Linked DNA regions of Homo sapiens: all the other regions are linked to region 7. Evidence: promoter capture Hi-C in 16 types of primary human blood cells and fetal thymus (Javierre and others, 2016). All regions are on one chromosome and are shown on one strand. The core of a region is centred on a gene start or on the middle of the fragment in contact, and the rest is flanking DNA. Distances in the headings are between cores, read along the strand shown.

Region 1 (3,525 bases), core at 1,017-3,516, 690 kb before region 7:
AGGAGAATCATTTGAACCCGGGAGGTGGAGGTTGCAGTGAGCTGAGATCGTGCCACTGCACTCCAGCCTGAGCGACAGAGTGAGACTCTGTCTCAAAAAACAGAAAAAAAGAAAATGCAGCTTTTAGGCCAGGCGCGGTGGCTCACCCTTGTAATCCCAGCACTTTGGGAGACTGAGGCGGGCAGATCACTTGAGCTCAGGAGTTCAAGACTAGTCTGGGCAACATGGCAAAACCCCGTCTTTATGAAAATTAGCTGAATGTGGTGGCGTATGCTTGTATTCCCAGGCAGGAGATCGCTTGAGCTTGGGAGGCAGAGGTTGCAGTGAGCTGAGATAGCACATTGCACTTCAGCCTGGGCAATGGGAGTGAAACCTTGTCTCAAAAAAAAAAAATTAATTAAAATAAATGCAGCTTTTACATGGGTGCAGGATGCTGTAAGAAAGACTTACCTAGCCGGGCGCGGTGGCTCACGCCTGTAATCCCAGCACTTTGGGAGGCCGAGGCGGGTGGATCACGAGGTCAGGAGATCGAGACCATCCTGGCTAACATGGTGAAACCCCGTTTCTACTAAAAATACAAAAAATTAGCCGGGCGCGGTGGTGGGCGCCTGTAGTCCCAGCTACTCGGGAGGCTGAGGCAGGAGAATGGCGTGAACCCGAGAGGCGGAGCTTGTAGTGAGCCGAGATCATGCCGCTGCACTCCAGCCGCCTGGGCAACGAAGACAGACACCGTCTCAAAAAAAAAAAAGAAAAAAAGAAAAAAAAAAGAAAGACTTACTATAGACTCTAATATGATTTGAGAAAAAGCGAAGTCATTATATGACAACTTAAAGCAAAAGGAAGGTGAAAAATCTAAAACTGGAGAATTTAATGCCAGAAAAGGGTGGTTTGATAATTGTAGAAAGAAGTTTGGTTTAAAAAATGTCAAGATAAAAAGAAGCAACTTCTGCCGACCAAGAGGCAGCAGGGGAGTTCCCAGATACCATTAAGAAAATCATTGAGGAGAAAGGTTATCTGCCTGAACGAGTTTTTTAATGCTGAGAGAAGTGCCCTATTCTGGGAAAAAAATGCCACAAAAGACATTTATTAGTAAGGAAGAGAAGTGCACACCCGGAATTAACGCCAGGAAGGGATAGACTAACTCTATTGTTTTGTGCAAATACAGTCAAGTTTATAATCAGGACTGTCCTTATCTATAATGCTGCTAACCCCTGAGCCTTGGAGGGAAAAGATAAACAGCAGCTGCTAGTCTTTTCATTGTATAACAAGAAGACCTAGACAGTGGGAACCCTTTTTCTGGATTGACTCCATTGATGCTTGTTCCCAAAGTCAGGAAGTACCTGGCCAGTAAGAGACTGCCTTTTAAAGTTTTTTTTGAGGCTGGGTGCAGTGCTTCACGCCTGTAATCCCAGCACTTTGGGGGGCCGAGGTGGGTGGATCACTTGAGGTCAGGAGTTCGAGACCAGCCTGGCCAACATGGTGATACCCCATCTCTACTAGTACAAAAATTAGCCGGGCATGGTGGTGCGTGCCTATAATCCCAGCTACTCAGGAGGCTGAGGCAGGAGAATCGCTTGGACCAGGGAGGCAGAGGTTACAGTTAGCTGAGATTGTGCCACTGCACTCCAGCCTGGGAGACAGAGTGAGACTCAGTCTCAAAAAAAAAAAAAAGTTTTATTGATATTGCACAGTGCCCATGGCCACCAGAAATGTCATGAATTCAACCCCAAAAGTATGGAAGTGGTCTACTTGCCCCCAGACACGGTGTCTCTATCTTGTTGTTGGGCCTCTAGATCAAAGGGCCACATGGACCTTTTAAGGCTCACCACACATGATACTCTATGGAAAGGATTGTCAACTCTGTGAAAGAGAACCCTGATAGAACATCAGGAAAGTGTGGAAGGATCACACCATTGAAGGTGCCATCAATGTTACAGAAATAACCATGAAAGTCAGCAAGCTTGAAACAATAAATTCCTGCTGGGGAAAACTGTCCAAATGTTTTGCATGACTTACAGGATTTACGATAGATACCATCAAGAAAGTCATGAAAGAGGGCCGGGCATGGTGGCTCATCCCTGTAATCCCAGCACTTTGGGAGACCCAGGACGGCAGATCACCTTAGGTCAGGAGTTCGAGACCAGCCTGGCCAACATGGCGAAACCCTGTCTCTACTAAAAATACAAAAATTATCCAGATGTGGTGGCGCCTGTAATCCCAGCTACTTGGGAGGCTGAGGCATGAGAATCGCTTGAGCCTGGGAGGCGGAGTTTCAGTGAGCTGAGATCATGCCACTGTATTCCAGCTTGGGTGACAGAGTGAGACTTGTCTCAAAAAAAAAAAAAAAAAAGAAAAGAAAATCATGAAAGAAGTTGTAGATATGGCAAAAAAGATGAGATGTGAAGCATTTCAAGATATCTGTTTTGGAGAAATTCAAGAACTAAGACACCACACCAGAGAAGTTAAGAGAAGACAGCTTGATGGAGCTCAGTGCTTCCAAACCAGTGCCAGATGATGAGGAAGAAGATGTAGAGGAAACAGTGCCAGAAGACTGATGTTAGACAGTCTGCCAGAAAGCTTCCAATTATTTAAGACTGCTTTTGGCTTCTTTTAGACATAGATCTTTCTATAATACTGGCACTGAAATGAAAGCAAATGATGGAAGAAGGATTGGTACTGTATAGAAACATTTTTAGAGAAATTTGCAAAAATGTCAGAGAGGAAGTACAGTATATTTCCATAAAGTTATACTGAGTGTGCCTGCCTCTATTGCCCTCCCTTCCACCTCCTCCATCTCCTCTGCCTCTGTTACCCCTGAGGGAGATGACCGACCCCTCCTGTTCTTCCTCTTCCTCAGCCTACTCACTGTGAAGACAAGGATGAAGACTTTTTTTTTATGGAGATGGAGTTTCGCTGTTGTTGCCCAGGCTGGAGTGCAGTGGTGTGATCTCGGCTCACTGTAACCTCCACCTCTTGGGTTCAAGCAATTCTTCTGCTTCAGCCTCCCGAGTAGCTGGGATTACAGGCACCCACCACCACGCCCGGCTAATTTTTTGTATTTTTAGTAGAGATGGGGTTTCACCATGCTGGCCAGGCTGGTCTGGAACTCCTGAACTCAGGTGATCTACCCTCCTCAGCCTCCTAAAGTGCTGGGATTACAGGCCTGAGCTACCGCACCCAGCAGGATGCAGACTTTTTTTGATGATCCACTTCCATTAATGGATATTTTCTCTTCTGTATATTCGAAGAATACAGTATATAAAACATATACAAAATATATGTTAATTGACTTTATTTTAACAGTAAGCCTTCTGGCCAGCAGTAAGCTATTAGCAGTTAAGTTTTTGGGTGAGTCAAAAGTTATACATGGTGGCTCATGCCTTTATTCCCTCCCAGCAATTTGGAAGGCCGAGGCGGATGGATCTCTTGAGGCCAGGCACTCAAGACCAGCTGGGACAACATGACAAAACCCCATCTCTACTAAATATACAAAAATTAGCCAGGCGTGGTGGAGACTACAGTGAG
Region 2 (3,085 bases), core at 311-2,810, 590 kb before region 7:
GTCTAATTGAATGCTTTTTCTGCATCTGCTGAAATATTAATATCATTAATTACATTAATAGATTTTATACTGCCAAACTATTACTGTTGCTTAGGTAAATCTAATTCAGTTATGAGAGTTTATTTTTTTCATATATGTTGCTATTTAATTTGCTGATATTTTGTTTAGGATTTTTGCAACTATGTATATCAATGGGAATGACCTATAGTTTTATAATTTTCTTGTCTTGAACTACCTTTATTTAGTTTCGACATCAATATTATTACTAGTTTTAGGTAATTAGTTGGTGGGGTATGGGATGGTTTTCTGATCTCATGGGGAAGGTGTATAAGATTGAAATTGGTGCCAATTGAAACTTAAAAAAAATGCCAGTTCAGGCTGGCCATTGTGGCTCTCGCCTGTAATCCCAGCACTTTGGGAGGTTGAGGCGGGTGGATCACTTGAGGTCAGGAGTGTGAGACCAGGCTGACCAACATGGCGAAACCCTGTCTCTACTAAAAATACAAAAATTAGCCGGGCATGGTGGTACGTGCCTGTAGTCCCAGCTACTCAGAAGGCTGAGGCAGGAGAATTGTTTGAACCCGGGAGGCAGAGGTTGCAGTGAGCTGCGATCGTGCCACTGCACTCCAGCCTGGGTGACAGAGCGAGACTCTGTCTCAAAAAAAAAAAAAAAATGCTGGTTCAGTTTTTAAAATGATTACATATATATAATATATGATGATTTTATATAGTAGCTTTTCTTCTTTTTATTCAATTGTATAAATTATGTCAACTTATAATGAATACTTCTCCTTTTCAAGTATTTTGAAAGCATGAAAATAGTGGGAATTATACAATAATATTCCTCAAAGCTTACAATTTATTTTATCCTTCCTGTCAGGTGCTCAAAAATGTGATAACTTTGCTGAAAAAAGACCCCTCCTTGGTGTTTGTAAGAGCATTGGATCTTCTGGGTAAGGAAATTTTAAAAATTCTTTGTATCACCTATTACAAATTTATATTATTCCAGAGGGAGAACTTTGATGTTATAAAACCTTTGTAACCATAAGACTAAGCTCTCATAAGAGAGAAGAAGAAGAAAGTAAAACATATTTAGGGTTTCCAACAGTAAATGACATTTATTGATGCTATAGCATGTGCCTGACACTGTTCTAAAGGTGTTGTGTGAATTTTCTTTTTTATTTATTACCACAATACTGTGAACAAATACAAATATCTTTCCAGTTAGTGCATTCCCTCAAATTGAACTTCTGGCTGCAAGGAAAGCTAGGAATGATTATGGTTTTGTTAGTAAGGAAAATTATCAAAATGGATATTAGGTTGGCTACTAGCAGTCTTGGCCTCATGCTTTCAGTAAATAGTGTGCACTTCAGATCATGTGGCATTGGAGAAAGGAAGAACATGTTAATAATATAACATGGTTAGGTCATGGAGTCTTGATTATTGTTTCCTAATGGTACTGTTTGACTTCATAGGCTACAAGACAAATTTCTTCAAGTGTAAATTTTTCGATTGAAGAAGACATAAAGCCTTTGAGAATTTACTGTATACTCAGCACTTTGCCGGGTGTAGGATAAGGATACAAAATCATGAAAGCCTAATTTCTTTCCCCAGAGACTTATGAATGTGGCTGAAAAGAAAAAGTACAACACATGCAAAATAATTATGAAATAATGATGTATGACAGGAATGCAGAGAAGGGAGAGATCAGTGTGCATGAATTAATGAGAAAAAGCCTCATGGAGAAGGAGCAGCATAGGTTAGATCTTAAGGAATGGGAAATATTGCAGCAGATGAGAAGGACTGCCAGGGTAGGTTATAATATAGTAGTGGAAGAGAAACTGAAATAAATACATTTAAGAATGGTAAGAGTTTGTGGGCCAGGCATGGTGACTCACGCCTGTAATCCCAGCACTTTGGGAGGCTGAGGCAGGCAGATCACTTGAGGTCAGGAGATTGAGACCAGCCTTGCCAACAAGGTGAAACCCTGTCTCTACTAAAAATACAAAAATTAGCCCAGTGTGGTGGCATGTGCCTATAACCCCAACTACCCGGAAGGCTGAGGCACGAGAATTGCTTGAACCTGGGAGGCAGAGGTTGCAGTGCACCACTGTACTCCAGCCTGGGCAACAGTGAGACTCTGTCTCAAAAAAAAAAAAAAAAAGAGAGAGTTTGTGACTTAGATTTAATGCCATCTGCAAAACAGATGAAAACAACTATTGCAGTACTCTGAAACTCAACCAAAAGCATATAATAATCTGAAAAGTGTTTAAGCTTGAGAAACTGCTAATCTTTGCACAATAACAGTGGGAATCTGTGGCATTCATGCCTGCAGCTGCTCCTGTCCCACTCCACACTTTCCCTCTTCCAGGGTTGGTTGGTTGGTTGGTTGGTTATAGAGTGTCTTCCAGGGTGAGAAAGGTTTTGAGGACTAGTACCTTACCTGCTGTGCTTGGAAAATTTTCGCTCATCTCTGAGTGGCAGGTATTGCATATGCCTGCCAGCATTATCTGCAGAAATTACTGTCTTGATGACATGTGTGCTTTGAGAGCCATTGGCTCTTTCAGCCTAAGATAATGGTTAGCTGAGGCTTCATGCATATGCAGAGGAGCCATGAAAAAGGGTCCAGGGGGAAGAAAAATCTGAATAGATGTGCAGATCCTTTGGCAAAGGAAAACAACTTTTGTTGACCTGGGGTATTTGAGTGAATCCTCTGTTGAGTAGTTGGCTGCCCACTAAGATACATAGATGCATGGCCAGACCCTGAAAGTCAGGCTTTAAAGTAATGCAAGAATAAAAGAAATAATAAAACTGAACAGAGAAATCAGCAACTGCAAATTGTGGAAGAAGACAGATTTCATAGAATCCAGAGTAATGTTATACTGTATTATATAAAATGTCTATTTTTAAATATAAAATTATGACACATGCCAAGAAACAGGAAGTTGTGGCAGTGAGAAAAAGGCAGACAATAGAAATCATACCTGACTGGTCTTCAGAAAAGCCTGAGTCCTGTCCTCTCACTCTCCCCACTGGACAGCATGAGCTTCACCACTTGCTCCACGTTCTCCACCAAACTACCAGT
Region 3 (3,354 bases), core at 843-3,342, 620 kb before region 7:
TTACTCTAGCTCTGGAGGCTGCCTGCTCTCCCCACCCCCAAATAAAACCCCCAAAACAAAATTCAGAACTTTTTGAGTGCTGACATGATGCCACAAGTGGAAAATTCCACACATAAATAACACAAACTGTTTCATGCACAAAATTAACAAAAATACTGTATCAAATTACCTTCAGGCTATATGTGTAAGGTGCATATGAAACGTAAGTTATTTTCTTTCTTTTTTTTTTTTTTTTGAGGCGGAGCTTTGCCCTTATTGCCCAGGCTGGAGTGCAATGGCGTGATCTCAGTTCACTGCAACCTCCGCCTCCCAGGTTCAAGCGATTCTCCTGCCTCAGCCTTCCAAGTAGCTGGGATTACAGGCATGTGCCACAACGCCTAGCTAATTTTGTATTTTTAGTAGAGACAGGGCTTCTCCATGTTGGTCAGGCTGGTCTCGAACTCCTGACCTCAGGTGATCCACCCGCCTTGGCCTCCCAAAGTACTGGGATTACAGGCGTGAGCCATCGCGCCCGGCAGAATTTCATGTTTAGACTTGGTTCCTATCAAGATAGCTTATTATGTATATGTAAATATTCCAAAAGCCAAAGAAGTCTGAAACCTGAAATGCTCCTGTTCCCAAGCATGTCAGATAAGGGGTACTCAACCTATACCATTCTCTGAGTTTTTCTAAATCATGCAAGAATGGTATGATTCTGTTTGAGAAATATTCTTGGTGCTATTTGATATATAGACCTTTGAAAAACAGGAGATAAGGCTCTGATATGATCACTGGAGCTTGGTGTCTATTGCAATATTTTTGGGAAAATATTCAAATATCTAAAAAACTTTACTATTTTTAATTTTTTTTTTTTTTTGAGATGGAGTCTCGCTCTGTTGCCTAGGCTGGAGTGCAGTGGCGCCATCTCGGCTCACTGCAAGCTCCGCCTCCTGGATTCAAGCGATTCTTCTGCCTCGGCTCCCCCGAGTAGCTGGGACTACAGGCACGTGCCACCACACCCAGCTAATTTTTGTATTTTTAGTAGAGACAGGTTTCACTATATTGGCCAAGCTGGTCTCAAACTCCTGACCTTGTGATCTGCCCACCTCGGCCTGCCAAAGTGCTTGGATTACAGGCGTGAGCCACCATGCCCTGCCTATTTTTTTTTTTTTTTTTAATTTTTTGAGACAGTGTCACCCTGTTGCCCAGACTGGGGTGCGGTGGAGCGATCTCGTGATCTTGTCTTACTGCAAACTCCACCTCCTGGGTTCAAGCGATTCTCCTGCCTCAGCCTCCCCAGTAGCTTGGATTATAGGCACCCGCCACCATGCCTGGCTAATTTATCTATTTTTAATAGAGACGGGGTTTCACTATGTTGGCCAGGCTGATCTTGGACTGCTGACCTCAAGTGATCCACCTGCCTTAGCCCCCCAAAGTGCTGGGATTACAGGCATGAGCCACCACACCCAACCCTAAAAAGCTTTTTTGTCATGTTAGTACTTTAGGTAACTTGTCGTACACAGAGATTTATTGGTGTAAAAGATAGACCTCTTGATACGAATTTTTGATAATTTGTTTGGAAAATAGTTGTATCTAAGCTGTGTTGCAGAGCTTCCTATTATAAATTATATCACAGCTTTCTTCCTTCTAATTTCCAGGCTGAGGTCCTTTTTATCCTTCTTTGAGTTATGGCTAACATAGCCTTACATTTTTTGACATATTTTCCTAAGTTAATTGTAGAATATCTGTAGATATTTTGTTAGATGTACATACAGATATTTAAATTTTGACGCTTTAAAGTAATTTGCCACCATGGTTCTGTTTTATTTTTTGTCTTTTTTGCCATCTTTTTTTTTGAGATGGAGTCTCACTCTGTCCCCCAGGCTGGAGTGCAGTGGCACCATCTCGGCTCACTGCAGCCTCCAACTACTGGGTTCAAGCGATTCTTGTGCCCCAGCCTCTGGAGTAGGTTGGGGTTACAGGTGCGTGCCACCATGCCTGGCTAATTTTTGTATTTTTAGTAGAGATGGGGTCTCACCATGTTGGCTAGGCTGGTCTCGAACTCCTGACCTCAAGTGATCCCCCCGCCTCAGCCTCCCAAAGTACTGGGATTACAGGTGTGAGCCGCTACGCCCAGCTTTTTTTTCCTTTTTTTTTTGCCATCTTTCTCAAAGAAAGAATTTTCCAGCTGGCCATGGTGGTTCACACCTGTAATCCCAGCACTTACAGAGGACAAGGTAGAAGGATCACTTGAGATTAGGAGTTTGAGACCAGCCTGGCCAACGTGGTGAAACTGCATCTCTACTAAAAATACAAAAATTAGCCAGGCATGTTGGTGCATGCCTGTAGTCTCTATTACTCGGGAGGCTGAGGCACGAGAATCTCTTGAAGTCAGGAGGCAGAGGTTTCAGTGAGCTATGATTGTGCCACTGTACTCCAGCCTGGATGACAGAGTGAGACCTTTTCTTTCTTCTCCTTCTTGTTTTTCTTCTTCATCCTAGACTGCCTTATACTTACTCAGATCACATTTCTTCTTATTGTTTTTGTCTTATTTCCATGTTTTTTCCTCTACCCCTTAAAACAAATTTTAAAAGACATTTTTATAAAAATGAATTTTACAATTATGTGTATTTCTTTACCTATTTTTCATAATTCCATTTTTTCCTACGTTAGTTAATAACAGTTGCTATGTGCTTCTAGACCTATTTCTAGGTGTGAATTTCATTTTATTCTGCTGGAGACTTACCAAGCTTTCTGGTTCTTTCTTTTATAATTCTGGAAAATTCTCTGTCATTTATCTCTTTGAATATCATGTTTTAAATTCTTCCTGTCTTCTGTCATTGTCCTCACCATCCTCCACCTAGAAATTCAGCACACCAGATGAACAACTGAGCTAGAAATCAGATTAACTTTCACAAAAGCAAAAGAAACCTATACCTGCTACATAGCCATTTTACCTTGAAGACTGAAAATTAAGGATGACCACATATGAGGAGTCCAGTTATTACTGAGGAGATATGACTTTAAAAACTACTTTTGTTTATCTGTTGCATTCTTTCAAATAGCTTGCAGCACAGTGTGAGACCTAATAATGGTTGCTTAATAATTGCCTGCTGTATTGAGTTTATAAAGATTTTATGTTATTTTACCAACTTTTAAACATCACTTTAAGAATTCCTTCATTTTATCTTAGTTTATGATAACAGCCACTATTTTTTGAGGACTTAGTATGCTTGAGGTAGGTAGCATCTCCAGTTTGCAGATGTGGCAGTTGACCTTCAGAATGTAGATTACAAACCAATTAATTATGAAAGCCAGTTTGGAAATCCATGCCTATCTGATTTAAAATTCCATGCCCTTTCTATTTTCTATGTT
Region 4 (3,496 bases), core at 604-3,103, 720 kb before region 7:
ACTTGTGTGTACACCCTCCTTTTCTCCTTGGGGGTTAGTTTTGGGAAGGGACTATTATCATCCTTGCTTTAAAGTTAAACTATAAATTCCTCCCTTGGTTAGCTTAGTCTATGTGCAGAGATAAGCAAAAGCAGTTAACTTAGATATCACCGATGGGTGGGAGTGGGGAGTTTAGGAGCAAAATGGAGTTAGTCATGCTAGGCCTCCTTTTCAATGTTACAATTCCACATTATCAAGTTATTTCAATCCCACATTATCAAGTTATTTCAATATTTCCAAATATATTCTTCTTCTTCTTCTTCTTCTTTTTTTTTTTTTGAGCGAGAGTTTTGCTCTGTCGCCCAGAGGCTGGAGTGCAGTTGCACGATCTCGGCTCACTGCAACCTTCACATCTCGGATTCAAGCGATTCTCCTGCCTCAGCCTCCTGAGTAGTTGGGATTACAGGCGTGCACCATCAAAACCCGCTGATTTTTGTATTTTTAGTAGAGACAGAGTTTCACAAAGTTGGCAAGGCTGGTCTTGACCTCCTGACCTCAAGTGATCTGCCCCTCTCAGCCTCCCAAAGTGCTGGGATTACAGGTGTGAGCCACCGTGCCCGGCCTTTTCTTTCATTTCTTTTTTTAAAATTTTTTAAAATTTTATGTATGTATGTATGTATGTATGTATGTATGTATGTATGTATGTATCTATCTATCTATCTATCTATCTATCTATCTATCTATCTATCTGTCTTGAGAGGGACTCTCTGTCACCCAGGCTAAAGTGCTGGAGGGCAATGGCGTGATCTATAGGCTCACTGCAATCTCCGCCTCCTGGGTTCAAGCAATTCTTCCGCCTCAGCCTCCCCAGTAGCTAGGATTACAGGCATTGGCCACCACACCTGGCTATTTTTAGTAGAGACGGGGTTTCTTCATGTTGTCCAGGCTGTTCTAGAACTCCTGGCCTCAAGCGATCTTCCCGCCTAGGCTTCCCAAAATGTTGGGATTGCAGGCGTGAGCCACCACGCCCAGCCCACCACGCCTGTTAATAAGCTATACCCTCACGGACCTGTCATTGGCATTAAATTTGATAATACATTAGAGTATTGTATATGAAGTATACGAAGGCCTGTGCTGAGTGTTCAAGAAGTCAGTCAGTATTATTCTACTTATATTAATAAATGAACTGATGAAATGACAATGGCGAGATCTCGATCTTCAACAATAAGGGAGATGGAAACTGAAGCAAGAAGTGGTCTACAAACCTAGCTCAAATTGTTGAGATTACCGGCCGTGCCCCTTATTCAGATCAACCCCTCCTCGGCTGATCGCCGGCGCGAGCCAGCCTAGGCTCCCGGAAGGTAAACACATCGCCAAGGGCTGGGCAGAAGGCGGGTGTGGGACGGGTGAGTGGCCAGCTAAAAGTGATTGGCAGCTGCCATGTCCACGTGCTCCGAGCTTGGAACCAGCTGTCGCGAGAATTCGATGTAAACAGACCAGTCTCCCTGTCCTCCGGCTCCAACCTGAAACGCTCACGTGAGCGGGACAGGAGTCTGGATCATGTTGCTTTTCTTTTCAAAGCCACGAAGGTTCTGTCTTCCAAAAAAAATGTACATGTTCGTAATTATTCCCCAGCTGCCTGCGTTTGCAACCGAACCTGACACCTCGGCTTCACCCGAACTTACATGCTGTTGTGTTTTCCCTCCAGCCCCAGCGGATTGGACACATTCAGAAGGCGGGTCCGCCTCTTTCCTACTTGCTGGTTGGCGAAGCTGACCTCCAAGGGCGGTGCCCGGCCATAGCCGGTTTGCTTCTGGGATTGGCTAGAGGGGGTGGTTCCGCTGAGGCGTGGTAGGAAGTGGCTGCCGTCAATCACTCGGGGAGACTCCAAACAGTGAGCCTAGAGCTGGAGACTAGCGTTAACCGGCGGGGCGGCCGGTGAGAGGGCTGGCAGGGCTTTGGCTTTGGGGAGGCTTGGGGAGGACGAGGGACTGGCGGCGTGAGGGGACTGGGTCGGGCTGGCAGGAATTCGACAGGAGAGAGGTGTCGATACTGGAGGGGGAGGGGAACAGTGCAAGGGGCCGGAGGGCGGCCGGGGGCAGCGGTGGCTCCGTGTTGGAGGTTAAGTGGGCAGCGCCGTACGAGTGTCTTTCAGGAGACTGGGGCCTGAGTGGCTGGCGAGGGTCGTCCCCAGGAGACAGGGCCCTTAAAGGGCAGGGCTTGGGAGACTGTGGTTCGAGAAAGCAAGAATGGGATGAGAATGAGAGGGCTGAGGGGCTGGAGGTGCAGGTATCCTCTGAGGAGGTGGTGGCTCTGCTCCTTGGGGCAGAGGGTGTTTTGGTTGTAGGAGGTGGGGCGCACAGGTTTAGAGTTTTCACATCAGGTGTGAATGCTCCCTACTTAAAAATGGTTTTCGGTGCCTTCAAGATGAGTTCCAGGTTGTGGGCTTCCCTGAGCCCTGTAAGAGATCTTTGATATTGCTGTCAGTCCTCTTTTAACCTTAACCAAGCCGACTCCATGCTCTTAAAATCTCAGTGATTCAGAGGGTCATGAAACATTCTAGGATCAGGATTTACTGATGTGACGGGAAAGGGTAAAGGGCTGTAACAACGTATTAGTTTATGTTAGTTATTTGACTACTTGCTACTAGTCAAATAATTACTTGACTTATTTGTTATAGTAGCAGGGGGTTACGAATGTGATTTAAATTGTGATTTACTCATAGATTCCCAACAGGTTTAATTGGAAGGTAGAGTGATATCATGTCACTTGTTCCGTTTGGTCTTGAAATATTGTACCATGTGTATTTTCACTATCTCAACATAAAATTGCAGTAAATTCCCATCCCATGATCTGGTTCTCTCACCCTTGTAATTTATGTTAACAACAGACCAAGGGGTACAGCAGGAGTCTTCCTTACATTGTTTTGTGGTTCTGAGACCTGGTCCTATTAAAAAACAAAACAGGATGGGCGCGGTGGCTCAAGCCTATAATCCCAGCACTTTGGGAGGCTAAGGCGGATGGATTGCTTGAGCTCAGGAGTTCGAGACCAGCCTTGGCAACATGGTGAAACCCCGTCGCTACAAAAAAATATAAAATTTAGCTCGGCATGGTGGCGCTCGCCTGTAATCCCAGCTACTCAGGAGGCTGAGGCAGGAGAATTGCTTGAGCCTGGGAGGCGGAGATTGCCATGAGCAGAGATCGTGCCACTGAACTCCAGCCTGGGCGACAGAGCGAGACTCTATCTCAAAAATAATAATAACCCCCCAAACCCCTCATTATAATTTGAAAAAAATTAAAAACCTACTTCCTCCTTTTTTCCCTTTCTGGTGTAACAGGAATTTCTGGGAAAGTTTCCTACATTTGAGGCATTTTTGACAAGGGATCTCTAGTGAGTAATCATAAATCTTCCTCCCTACCCCCAACAACGATCCATGTTTTTCTGTTTTTTGTTTGTTTGTTTGTTCTGGAAACAGGTTTTATGAATGAAGCTATGGCTACAGATTCCCCAAGAAGA
Region 5 (3,242 bases), core at 305-2,804, 660 kb before region 7:
TATGTTGTTTTCAAAATGGTAAAACAGTGATCTCATACAACTATATAAGGGACAGATATCCTGCATTTTTTTTAACTCATTGATTAGGGATTTGGGATGTTATTATAGCTGGTTCCAAGAAGAAGGTGAATATCACAGAGAAGCAATTAGGAATACTGAAATAAATTTTCTAATAGATACAAGCTTGGTTAATATTCTGTTGGGCACTAAAATGTACTGTTTGGAATAATCTTTTCTACAGAGTGGAATTCACTTGTATCTCTACCAGACAAAATTCATTTGCATTTCTGTGCACAAGAATCAATTGCATTACTATCAGTTTTTGACAGCTCAGAGTATTGTACAGTAGCCCAGTCAAAGACAAAGTGTGGATCCCCTATAGAATCAGATAACCCCAAAGGGTCTGCTAGAGAGCTCTTGGTAATCCATAGAAAAAACACAGAACACAAAGTAATCTATTCAGCATTTCAAAATCTTTCACAATTTTCCTTGACATCTTTTTTTTTTTTTTTTTTTTTTTTGAGACTGAGTCTTGCTCTGTTGCCTAGGCTGGAGTGCAATGGTGCAATCTCAGCTCACTGCAACTTCCGCCTCCTGGGTTCAAGCAATCTTCCCACCTCAGCCTCCCGAGTAGCTGGGACTACAGGTGTGTGCCACCATGCCCGGCTAATTTTTGTATTTTTGGTAGAGACAGCTTTTCACCATGTTGGCCAGGCTGGTCTCGAACTCATGACCTCAAGTGTTCCACCCACCTTGGCCTCCCAAAGTGTTGGGATTATAAGGCATGAGCTACTGTGCCTGGCCTCCTTGACATCTTAAGAGCTAAAAACTAGAAGTAAAAAAGTAAAAACAACTCAGAGGTCCATGAACAGTAGTACAATGGATAAAATTGTAATATTTTCGGCCAGGCACGGTGGCTCACGCCTGTAATCCCAGCACTTTGGGAGGCCGAGGTGGGCAGATCATGAGGTCAGGAGATTGAGACCATCCTGGCTAACACAGTGAAACCCCGTCTCTACTAAAAATACAAAAAATTAGCCGGGCATGGTGGCACGTGCCTGTAGTCCCAGCTACTTGGGAGGCTGAGGCAGGAGAATGGCGTGAACCCAGGAGGTGGAGCTTGCAGTGAGCCAAGATCGCGCCACTGCACTCCAGCCTGGGTGACAGAGCGAGACTCCTTCTCAAAAAAAAAAAAAAAAAATTTGTAATATTTTCATACAATGGAAATCTATATAGCAATACATATAAAACTACAATTCCATGCAACAACATGAATTAATTTCATAAGCATAGTAATGTGTGAAAGAAGCCATTCCCAAGGGTACATATTGTGGGAACCCATTTACATTAAGATGAACAAGTAGAACTTAAAGTAATAGAAATCAGGATTGTAGTTATGGCCACTCTTGAGTTGGGATTATGACTGAAAAGAGATGTAGCAGGACCTTCTGAGTATCCATAATATTCTGTTTCTTGATGTCTTTTGGTTCAGAGGTACGTTAACATTTAAAATTCATGTTATACATATACTTAGGATGTATGTATTTTTTCTGTGTTTGTTACCTCTTGATAAAGTTTGCTAAAAAAAAAAAAAATCATTTGTGGACCACAAACATCCATTTAACCAGTATCTATAGGGGAAAGTGGGGTTGTGAATGTGTACTCTTGTCCTAATAATGCAGCATTATAAAGCAGTATTTTTATTGTCTTTTGGTATTTGAATTTTCTATATTATAATTGGTCTATGAAAAGTCATCAGAAGTTTAGAAATAAGTTTGATTCTGAGGGCAAGATAACCTTCATTTGCTTTCAGAATTCTCTAAAAGCACTTCTACAGCTCTCCCAGAACTTGTGTAGCCTTTTCTGTGTGTATATTATTGTCTTAGCTGTTGTAATTTCCTTTTGCCTTAGATCGAGTTGTGAGATTCTAAACTTGTACTACCCCCACCCCTTTTTTGGTTTGGTATGTAATTTGCATATTTTCACCATGCGAAAGCTATTTTCTATGGTTGGAAAAGATTTTTTTTCCTACAGTGTGAACAAATCATTCTTTGTTCTCCTTATTGTGCCTCCAAACTGGTACGTCCGGTTTATGCCCCAAACAACAAAAGTCTGTCATCAGAAATTAAAATGCCAGTAAGAACAAAGGCAGAGACCATGAGGAGCTGTTGGAGAGGCTTTCTCCCTGTTCGCTCTTCTCCCCAAGTTACCACAGTTGCCAGGAAGTTGGAATACTGCTTGGACTCTCTTTCCTTGTAGTTCTACTCTTGTATTTATTGCTATTGTTGGTTTAAAAGTGAACTTACAGTTTAGTATACTTCTTTTCAGGATCTAGAAAATCCTTATCTCTGCCATTTTTAATGAGCTCTTTTCTTAAAACCTAAAAAATCACTCTTGACAGCCTTATAAAAAATCAGTTTTGGCACTTATTTGAAGGCAAAATTATCAGTGGACATAATGTATAAAATTATTATTCAGAAAGATAGCTAAAGCAGAATCTGTAAAGACTAACCATCCTCTGTGTGTCCTTTCTAAAACGTATGGATCATATCTGTATAAACCTTAACTCTGTTTCTGTTCTGAAATGGTACTCTAATGTAGAATTCCCACAGACTATTTGGAGAGTTCTCTCCTCGAGGAAGTTTGACATTTTGTGACTCACATAGGATAGTTTAGAATTATGCTTCTAATTTCAGTAGGTTGTACAATCCTGATTTTAATATATTCAGAAATATCTATAAATGTGACACAATGTTTCCTCTGCTCCCCCCAACCCCCACCCCCGAGTTATAATTAAACACAGATCCTAGGACCATAGAGGTAATGAAGAATGGACAGTGAATGTGGGGATGCATTTTAAAATCAGTCCAAATGTTTTTTTCCTCCCCTCACCCATTGCCTTATGTGTAAGGAGGGATTTAAGATACAAGCTTAGAATAGGGCATTTAGGTTTGTTTTGAAAGCTGTTTTGCTGAAAAGTGTTGTATATTCAGGTTTCAAAATGTTTTTTGATGTCAGAATAAGCTCTTGTGTATTAAATACAATGATAGCAAACTTTTATATTGTGAGTATGCTAAGACAGATTTGTTTTATTCTTTTTTTTTGAATAATTGAGTACAGCAGCTCATTTAAATATGGTTACACTTCTTTAACATAAAGGTTTTATTTGATAGGACCAAAAGCTAAATACTAGAACTGGCATATGCAAATAATAGTACAGAGTGGTGGATTTTGTTTTAGAA
Region 6 (3,216 bases), core at 102-2,601, 670 kb after region 7:
TCCGAAACAAGACGAGAAAAAATGCCAACACTCCCCTAAACAGAGCCCGGGACCGTAGGAGAGCGAACGCCGCCTCCCGGGGCTGGCCGCGGAGCTTCGCAGGGCGCCGGCTCCGGCTGGGCCTCGCCCGGGAACTCGGGCATCTGGACCAGACCCGGCCCCCTCCCCCACGGCCCAAGGGCGCACCTCGCGGCCCCCCTCCCTCGGCGCCCGCCGGCCCCGGCACTCACCAGGCAGAAGAGGTTACAGTGACAATCTTCCAGGCTGGCCCCGTTCGGCACGAAGGAGGCACTCATCGTCCCTCACAGCAGCCGCCGCCGGCGCCACAACCCACCATCCGCCATTACCGCCGCCTCCGACCAGAGAGAGAAACACAGACACCGGGGAGGGCCGGGGGGGGGGTAGTGGTTGGGGGGGCGGTGGAAGAGGAGGCCGCCGGGCGCCCGCCCTCCCCACCCACCCCCCCGCCGCCGCCGCCGCCGCCGCCGCCGCGAGCAGCCCCCGCCGCCCGGCCGGCACCCAGCCGCCCGGGGCCGAGGGCCGGAGGCGGGAGGGCCGCGCCGCGCTCGCCTGGCGGGCCGGACTGCGGATCCCGCAGACGCTCGTCCCTCTCTGGGGGACGGAGGGGATGTGTGCCCCTACCACAAGAAAAATAATAAATTACACAATAAATAATCAAAATCAAGTCCGAGACGGCAGAGCCCAAGCCCAGGACGGTTCTCCCGGGCGGAGAGGCGCCCGCACAGGAGCGGGAAGGGCGAGAACCGGGAGAGAAGCCCAGGCCCCCGGCGCGGCAGCGGCGATGTCCTTAAGCCCAGAGTCTCCTCAGCGGCGGAGGTGGTGGCGGCGTCTGCGGGCTCAGACCATTCTCTGGCTCTGTCTTCGTGTCGTTCCTGGGCCAAGCCGGCCTAAAGTTTGCCCTCCTGTGGCCTCACCGGCTGGACGCCGTAGTCTCCCCCATTTTGTGGGCCCAGCGGGCGGTGTTTTTCCCCCTTTAATCCGAATTCACGGGTTTTCCCTTCGCTTTAATGGCGGCCACAGGGACCAGCTCGCCCTCTCTGCTCACCCATTGGCCGCCTTGAGGTCACGTGGGCCCGGGCTCGGTTGGGAGGGGGAGAGAGAAGTGAGCGAGGGAGGGCCGGGAAGCTTTCGGCGGAGGCGGTGAGCTCGGGGGACGGGGCAGCCAGCTGGTGGCCACTAACATAGCGCCATCTGCTGGGTGCCCCGGCCAGTATAAAACGACCCGGGGCCCTGGCCCTCTCTTTGCGGGGAAATTTACAGTCCAGGAAGGTTCATTTCACAAATCAGTGAGAATTACGTGGAAATCAGTTTGAGTTCTTTGGAAGAGAAAGTATTGGCAAAAATTCCAAGACATTCTCATTTATTTCGCGAGGCCGCTGGGGTGCAGGTGCAAACCTCTGGATTTGGGAGTCAGATGATCTGGATGGGGATAAGACTCCTCAACCTAAAAGTTGTGATATGAAGATATAAATTTAAGAAACAAAATATTGCCCTGTAGTTAATAGACTGGGAATTAGAGCCACACTGCCTGGGTTCCAAGCTTGAGCAAATCACTTCCTGCTCTGTGTCTTTACTCATCTGTAAAATGGGGAAAACATATCCCTTACCCCACAAGCTTATTGTAATGAGTTAATACAAATTAAGCAGGTAGCCCAGTGCCCCGCACAGATAAGCACTGTTAAGAGTTAACTATTATTGTTGTCATCATTACCTCATATAGTTATTGTGACGAGCAGGAGAACTAGTGTATGTAAAGGTCTCACTATTTTTTTGTTGTTTACTTCTGTCTCTCTAGTGCCTAAAAAAAGGTTCCTAGCACACAGTAGGTGCTTGATATTTGTATAGTTACAAATGAATGGGTGGTAAGAAGTAAGAACCAAACAAAAGGTTTATTCTCTTTCCCATAAAACACCCAGTGCTTGGATGGGTTACACTTCAATATGAGTTCAAAACAGTTTCTCTGACGGTTTTAGGATTGCAAGAAAGAAAGAAGAAGAAAAAGATGATTCAGAAGTTAGAAACATCAGTGAGTTAGGACTTACTGTAATTTTATGTATTACAGATACATAATTATGTATTATGTATTACAGATACATAATTGTATCTGTAAAATGAATGGTAGACTCTTCCATGTCACTTCTTCAGCCACGGAATGAAAAGAAGTCCTCATTTATCCACTTGTTCATCTGTGGTGGTGAAGAGCCCAGATCTGAAGCCCAAAGCCTGGAGAAAAAGTTCTGCCCCTCACTAGTTAGTCTTAGATCATATTTGACCTTAGATCAAATTAATTTTGCTTTCTCTCGGTTATTGTAAAATGGGGGTAATAAAAGTACTTTTCTTCTAAAATGACTGGTGAATGAAACAATGTAGATACAGTGCTTGCCACAGTGCTTACTTAATGTTAATTATTAATGTAATTTTAAAAATCATTGAGAACCTGCTGGCTCAATTGAGTGTGTTCCTGCTCTGTGCTAGGCCTAGGATACAAATAGGAATAAGATACCTGCCTGTCCCTCAAGATTCCTGAAGAGAGGCACTAAAGGAAACATTTCCTACAGAATAAGGTAAAATACAATGGGGGTAATTGCTTGAATAAAGTATGTACCTACTATGGCATAGTAAGTGCACTAGAAGAAGAGCATCAAACTTAGAGAAGTTGTCATAAAGTAGGTAGCATTTGAAATCAGATTTGAAGGATAAAATGAATTCTTATAAAGCCCTTTGAAGCAGTTAAATCTTATTAAACCTAATTCGAACCCAAAGTCCACATATCAAAGTCAATTATGCAACCAGGACTAATTCAATCCAGGAGCTCAAATCAACTAAGGTTGGCATCCTTTATAACCGAGTGCCAGCACCAGGAGACAGCAATCCCCAGATCCAATGAGGTAAGCGCTCCTCTGCCCATTTCCCGTTCCCTGAAAAACTCCTCAGATCTTTGTTCCGCTGCTTTCCTCAGGCTGAAATGCCCTCCTCACATCTAAAGGGGTCTCCATTCTCCTTAGAAGTCTTGCCCTCCCATTGCCCCCACCCCCTGACTTGAGCACCATCCTCAGGATTCCAATGGCAGGTAGAATATACCTGAAACCTACCAGTAGGAGGTAACATTTGATTGACCTTTCTGTTTGAATGTCAATCTTTTCAAAAAGAAGAGGGAGACAAGGAGACAGAAGCGAAGAAGGGAGGAAGACCCAG
Region 7 (3,208 bases), core at 706-3,205:
CACACACACACACACACGCGCGCGCGCGCGCGCGCGACTTTGCGAATGTATTCACGGATTCCTAGGCCGGTACCTGGGTTCCCGGCTAAGGAAAGCTGCCCTGGTTATTATCTGGTCACCTCACCGGCTGCGCAAACGTGTCCACAACGGGTCCCTCCCCGAGAGGCCACATCTCGCCTAAGGTGGAGCCAGCAGGTATTTGCCTGTGGAAAACTGCAGTGGATCCTGCCCCGTCTGCGTAGACTGCGCAGCTCGGAGTCAAAGATTCGTTCTGGCCAGAGAGGAGGTACTAAGAGAGGTGCGACCTAGCCAAGAACGAGGTCGTGGAGAAAACCCTGTGGGGGCGGCGCTCACATATGCGGTGATGAGGAGTTGTGAGGGCCCTGGGGTCGGCCCCGAAAAGTAGGGATAACGGTCGCAGAGGCCATACTGCTTCCGCCGGTCCCGAATCCGCACTGCCAGGAGAGATCCGGCCTTCAAACGCTGCTCCCAACGTTCAACAACGAAGTGCCCTGCGACCGGTGTGCGCAGTGGGCGGGCGCCTGCATGGGTCAATGTTGGATGTACGCGCCCACCACGCGGTTGTACGGGTGGGAATGTCACCCGTGGCTAGTGCATGCTCTGTCTTTTCCTTCAGAAAACGACCTTCAGGAATCAGCCTGAGTGTTCGCGCCCGAGCCCGATTGGAAGCAGGTGCGTGGTCGCTTCACTCTCCCCGTGCACACCTTGAGTTATAGCTCTCGCTGCGCACAGAGGGCACCACACGGGGCCCGACACACACACACACACACACACACACACACACACACACACACACACCATCACTTCATGGGGGGGAAACTGAGGCTGCCGGAAGACAGAAAACGAAGACTGATCACAGAAGAGGGGGCTTCAATCACAGGTGCTCGCAGACACCCCAACTCCCTCACGCGTTACTCAGCACTCCTTAACTTAGGAGACGTGCGCTTCCGAGAGATGAGAAGAAACTAAAAAAGTGGTTGGCAGGGCGAAGAGAGGAAGCCGGTATTTCGGAAGAAGGAGACTTTCGTCTCCGGTACCGGATAGGGCGAAAATTCGTTGGGTCGCGGGTGGAGAATCCGGGGTCCGCCCGCGCGGTGCCGCCCTGTGCTCAGCGAAAGGTGCGCTCACCTTCCTGGCCCCGAGGATCCGCTCCTCCCGGCCGCTGGAAAGCTCAGGGCGGGGCCCGGGCCTGCGGAGAACTCCAGGTTCCTTCCGAGTCTTCCGGTGAAGGCGGGCGCGGGTAGGGGGTCCCCGCGTTTCCCCAGCGCAAGGCCGCGTCCCGCTCCCGCCCGCGCCGGCCCCAGCAGGGCTCGGCCATGGCTCCACTCACCAGCTCCCGCCACCTGGGATCCGCTCCCGGACCTCGGCCGCCCGAGCCTCCCGACTCGCCCGCCCACCGGCCTCGCTTTCCAGTGCCTGCTGTCTCTTTCCGGGGCGCAGGGACCCCCAGGCGGCGCCACGACCCGGAGCTGGGTCGGAGGCCAGGCTGGGGCTCGGGCCAGAGCGGCCGGGCCTCTGGGCGCGGGAGAAGGAGGGCGCCCCCTCTCCGCTCGGGGTCGTGTCAATGCTTTGCACTTGGGGCCGGCGTGCGGCTGCGGGTCCTTCCCCAAGGCCCCGGGACCCGGGCTCCCCTCGCCTCAGGCCCTTTCGGCGGGTCAGGTCGGCCCTCCGCGCTCTCCAGTCCGGCGCAGGCAGCCGCAGGCGCGGGCGGGCGGTGGGGGCCGGGGCAGGAGGAGGGGTCTCGGGGCCCGGCGGCCCGTCATTGGTTAATATTTTATTCTGTTGACATGTTTTCTTACTGCTGAGGCTTCCGACACCTTCTCCCAGGCCCCCCCTCCCGGCCGGAGCTTGGCCTGAGCTGTCAAAACCCCGCCCCCGGAGACCCACAATTGGTCCAAAAAGCGTAAAATCAGCAATCAAGGGGGGCCTGGCTCGTTAGCGCAGGGGATCCGAGCTGGGCAGGACATGTGAGATAGTCACAGTTTTCCAGAGATCACGACAAGATCTAACCAGTCGCGCGTGGTCCCCGGCGCCGGAGCGGGCCAGCTCAGCCCGGCCCAGCCCGGCCCCGCGCAGAGCCCCCGCCGCCCCCGCGCACAGAGCCGGGTGCCCCTTGCGGTGCGCCGGACGGGAAGCCCCGAGGAGCAGCTGCTGCGCCCGCCACCCGGGTCGTCCGTCCACCGCGCGCGCCGCCGCCCGGGCCGGGGGTCCGAGCCGCGCGCCCCCGGCCCCGGCCCCGGCCCCCGGGCGCCTGGGCCGGATGTCCCGATGAGAGAGCCGGCGCTGGCGGCCAGCGCCATGGCTTACCACCCGTTCCACGCGCCACGGCCCGCCGACTTCCCCATGTCCGCCTTTCTGGCGGCGGCGCAGCCCTCCTTCTTCCCGGCACTCGCGCTGCCGCCCGGCGCGCTGGCCAAGCCGCTGCCCGACCCGGGCCTGGCGGGGGCGGCGGCCGCGGCGGCGGCGGCGGCAGCAGCGGCCGAGGCGGGGCTGCACGTCTCGGCACTGGGCCCGCACCCGCCCGCCGCGCATCTGCGCTCCCTCAAGAGCCTGGAGCCCGAGGACGAGGTGGAGGACGACCCCAAGGTGACGCTGGAGGCCAAGGAGCTGTGGGACCAGTTCCACAAGCTAGGCACGGAGATGGTCATCACCAAGTCCGGGAGGTAGGGCTGCCGGCCGGCTGGAAGGCGCGCGGGCGGGCGGGCGGGCTGGGGCACGGGACTGCACGGATCAGAGCAGAGCTGGGGACTCCCGGCTCCCGGCTCCCGGCTCCAGGTTCTGGCCCTGACGCCACGCTTCGCTCCCACGGACAACCAAGTTGACTTTTCTCGTTTGGCACCGGAGCGATTTTTTTTTAAAACAAAAACGCTAAAATCCTCCGAATGAAATAAAACGAAAACATACTGCTAAAGAATAGCCCCAACCGTTCTGAGTCCCAGCGCAGAGGAGGCCCCGCGGCTTGGCCCTGGCGGTCTCCTCCGCCCCGCGCTCTCGCTCTTCTGCGTCCGGGTCCGTCTCCGAGCTCGGGGGAAATTCAGCCTCTCTCAGACTCTGCTCCGACCCCGAAGCCCCTAGTGGGACCTGGGCCCAGCTAACCCCACGCTGGTTGCTCGGTTCCTGGCAGCGAGCCCCGGGTCAGCCGAGCCCTCCGCCTCACCGGGCTGGGAGCCCTTTCTCCACCGCGGGC

Evidence for each region. Contacts are between HindIII fragments. The CHiCAGO score rates a contact against its expected background, and 5 or more counts as called.
Region 1: a fragment that was not itself captured here is called in contact with the fragment with the promoter of TBX2 in region 7 in 4 of 17 cell types (M0 macrophages, megakaryocytes, endothelial precursors and 1 more); the score reaches 9.9 in M0 macrophages.
Region 2: a fragment that was not itself captured here is called in contact with the fragment with the promoter of TBX2 in region 7 in 1 of 17 cell types (megakaryocytes); the score reaches 5.8 in megakaryocytes.
Region 3: a contact is called between a fragment that was not itself captured here and the fragment with the promoter of TBX2 in region 7, in 1 of 17 cell types (M1 macrophages). The highest score is 6.3, in M1 macrophages.
Region 4: a contact is called between the fragment with the promoter of BCAS3 here and the fragment with the promoter of TBX2 in region 7, in 7 of 17 cell types (total B cells, activated CD4 T cells, total CD4 T cells and 4 more). The highest score is 9.8, in total B cells.
Region 5: a fragment that was not itself captured here is called in contact with the fragment with the promoter of TBX2 in region 7 in 11 of 17 cell types (megakaryocytes, M0 macrophages, M2 macrophages and 8 more); the score reaches 16.2 in megakaryocytes.
Region 6: a contact is called between a fragment that was not itself captured here and the fragment with the promoter of TBX2 in region 7, in 2 of 17 cell types (naive CD4 T cells and naive CD8 T cells). The highest score is 6.9, in naive CD4 T cells.

The regions. Positions count from the first base shown.
Region 1 is chr17:60,703,181-60,706,705 of GRCh38, forward strand. The region is part of intron 4 of BCAS3 (BCAS3 microtubule associated cell migration factor); the gene reads left to right. Among named protein-coding and RNA genes, the nearest start is that of BCAS3, 27 kb to the left of the region's middle. The HindIII fragment of the contact is 617 bases long and covers 1,959-2,575 here.
Region 2 is chr17:60,807,124-60,810,208 of GRCh38, forward strand. BCAS3 (BCAS3 microtubule associated cell migration factor) reads left to right here. Exons shown (of 24, transcript NM_017679.5): 7 at 881-953. It also overlaps the pseudogene KRT18P61. Among named protein-coding and RNA genes, the nearest start is that of BCAS3, 130 kb to the left of the region's middle. The HindIII fragment of the contact is 1,423 bases long and covers 850-2,272 here.
Region 3 is chr17:60,779,152-60,782,505 of GRCh38, forward strand. All of the region lies in intron 6 of BCAS3 (BCAS3 microtubule associated cell migration factor), which reads left to right. Among named protein-coding and RNA genes, the nearest start is that of BCAS3, 100 kb to the left of the region's middle. The HindIII fragment of the contact is 1,270 bases long and covers 1,458-2,727 here.
Region 4 is chr17:60,675,998-60,679,493 of GRCh38, forward strand. BCAS3 (BCAS3 microtubule associated cell migration factor) reads left to right here and starts at 1,854. Exons shown (of 24, transcript NM_017679.5): 1 at 1,854-1,917; 2 at 3,456-3,496. The coding sequence starts at 3,461. RefSeq lists a silencer at 1,234-1,987 and enhancers at 1,406-1,575, 1,746-1,895. The HindIII fragment of the contact is 12,302 bases long and covers 1-3,496 here.
Region 5 is chr17:60,741,930-60,745,171 of GRCh38, forward strand. All of the region lies in intron 5 of BCAS3 (BCAS3 microtubule associated cell migration factor), which reads left to right. Among named protein-coding and RNA genes, the nearest start is that of BCAS3, 66 kb to the left of the region's middle. The HindIII fragment of the contact is 2,747 bases long and covers 182-2,928 here.
Region 6 is chr17:62,064,910-62,068,125 of GRCh38, forward strand. It overlaps MED13 (mediator complex subunit 13), which reads right to left and starts at 369. Exons shown (of 30, transcript NM_005121.3): 1 at 231-369. The coding sequence starts at 296. RefSeq lists silencers at 10-289, 1,080-1,159 and an enhancer at 770-1,029. The HindIII fragment of the contact is 415 bases long and covers 1,145-1,559 here.
Region 7 is chr17:61,397,888-61,401,095 of GRCh38, forward strand. TBX2 (T-box transcription factor 2) reads left to right here and starts at 1,956. Exons shown (of 7, transcript NM_005994.4): 1 at 1,956-2,684. The coding sequence starts at 2,290. It overlaps TBX2-AS1 (TBX2 antisense RNA 1), which reads right to left and starts at 1,719. Exons shown (of 2, transcript NR_125751.1): 1 at 1,352-1,719. RefSeq lists promoters at 913-2,173, 1,793-2,040 and a cis regulatory region at 2,029-2,040. The HindIII fragment of the contact is 11,976 bases long and covers 1-3,208 here.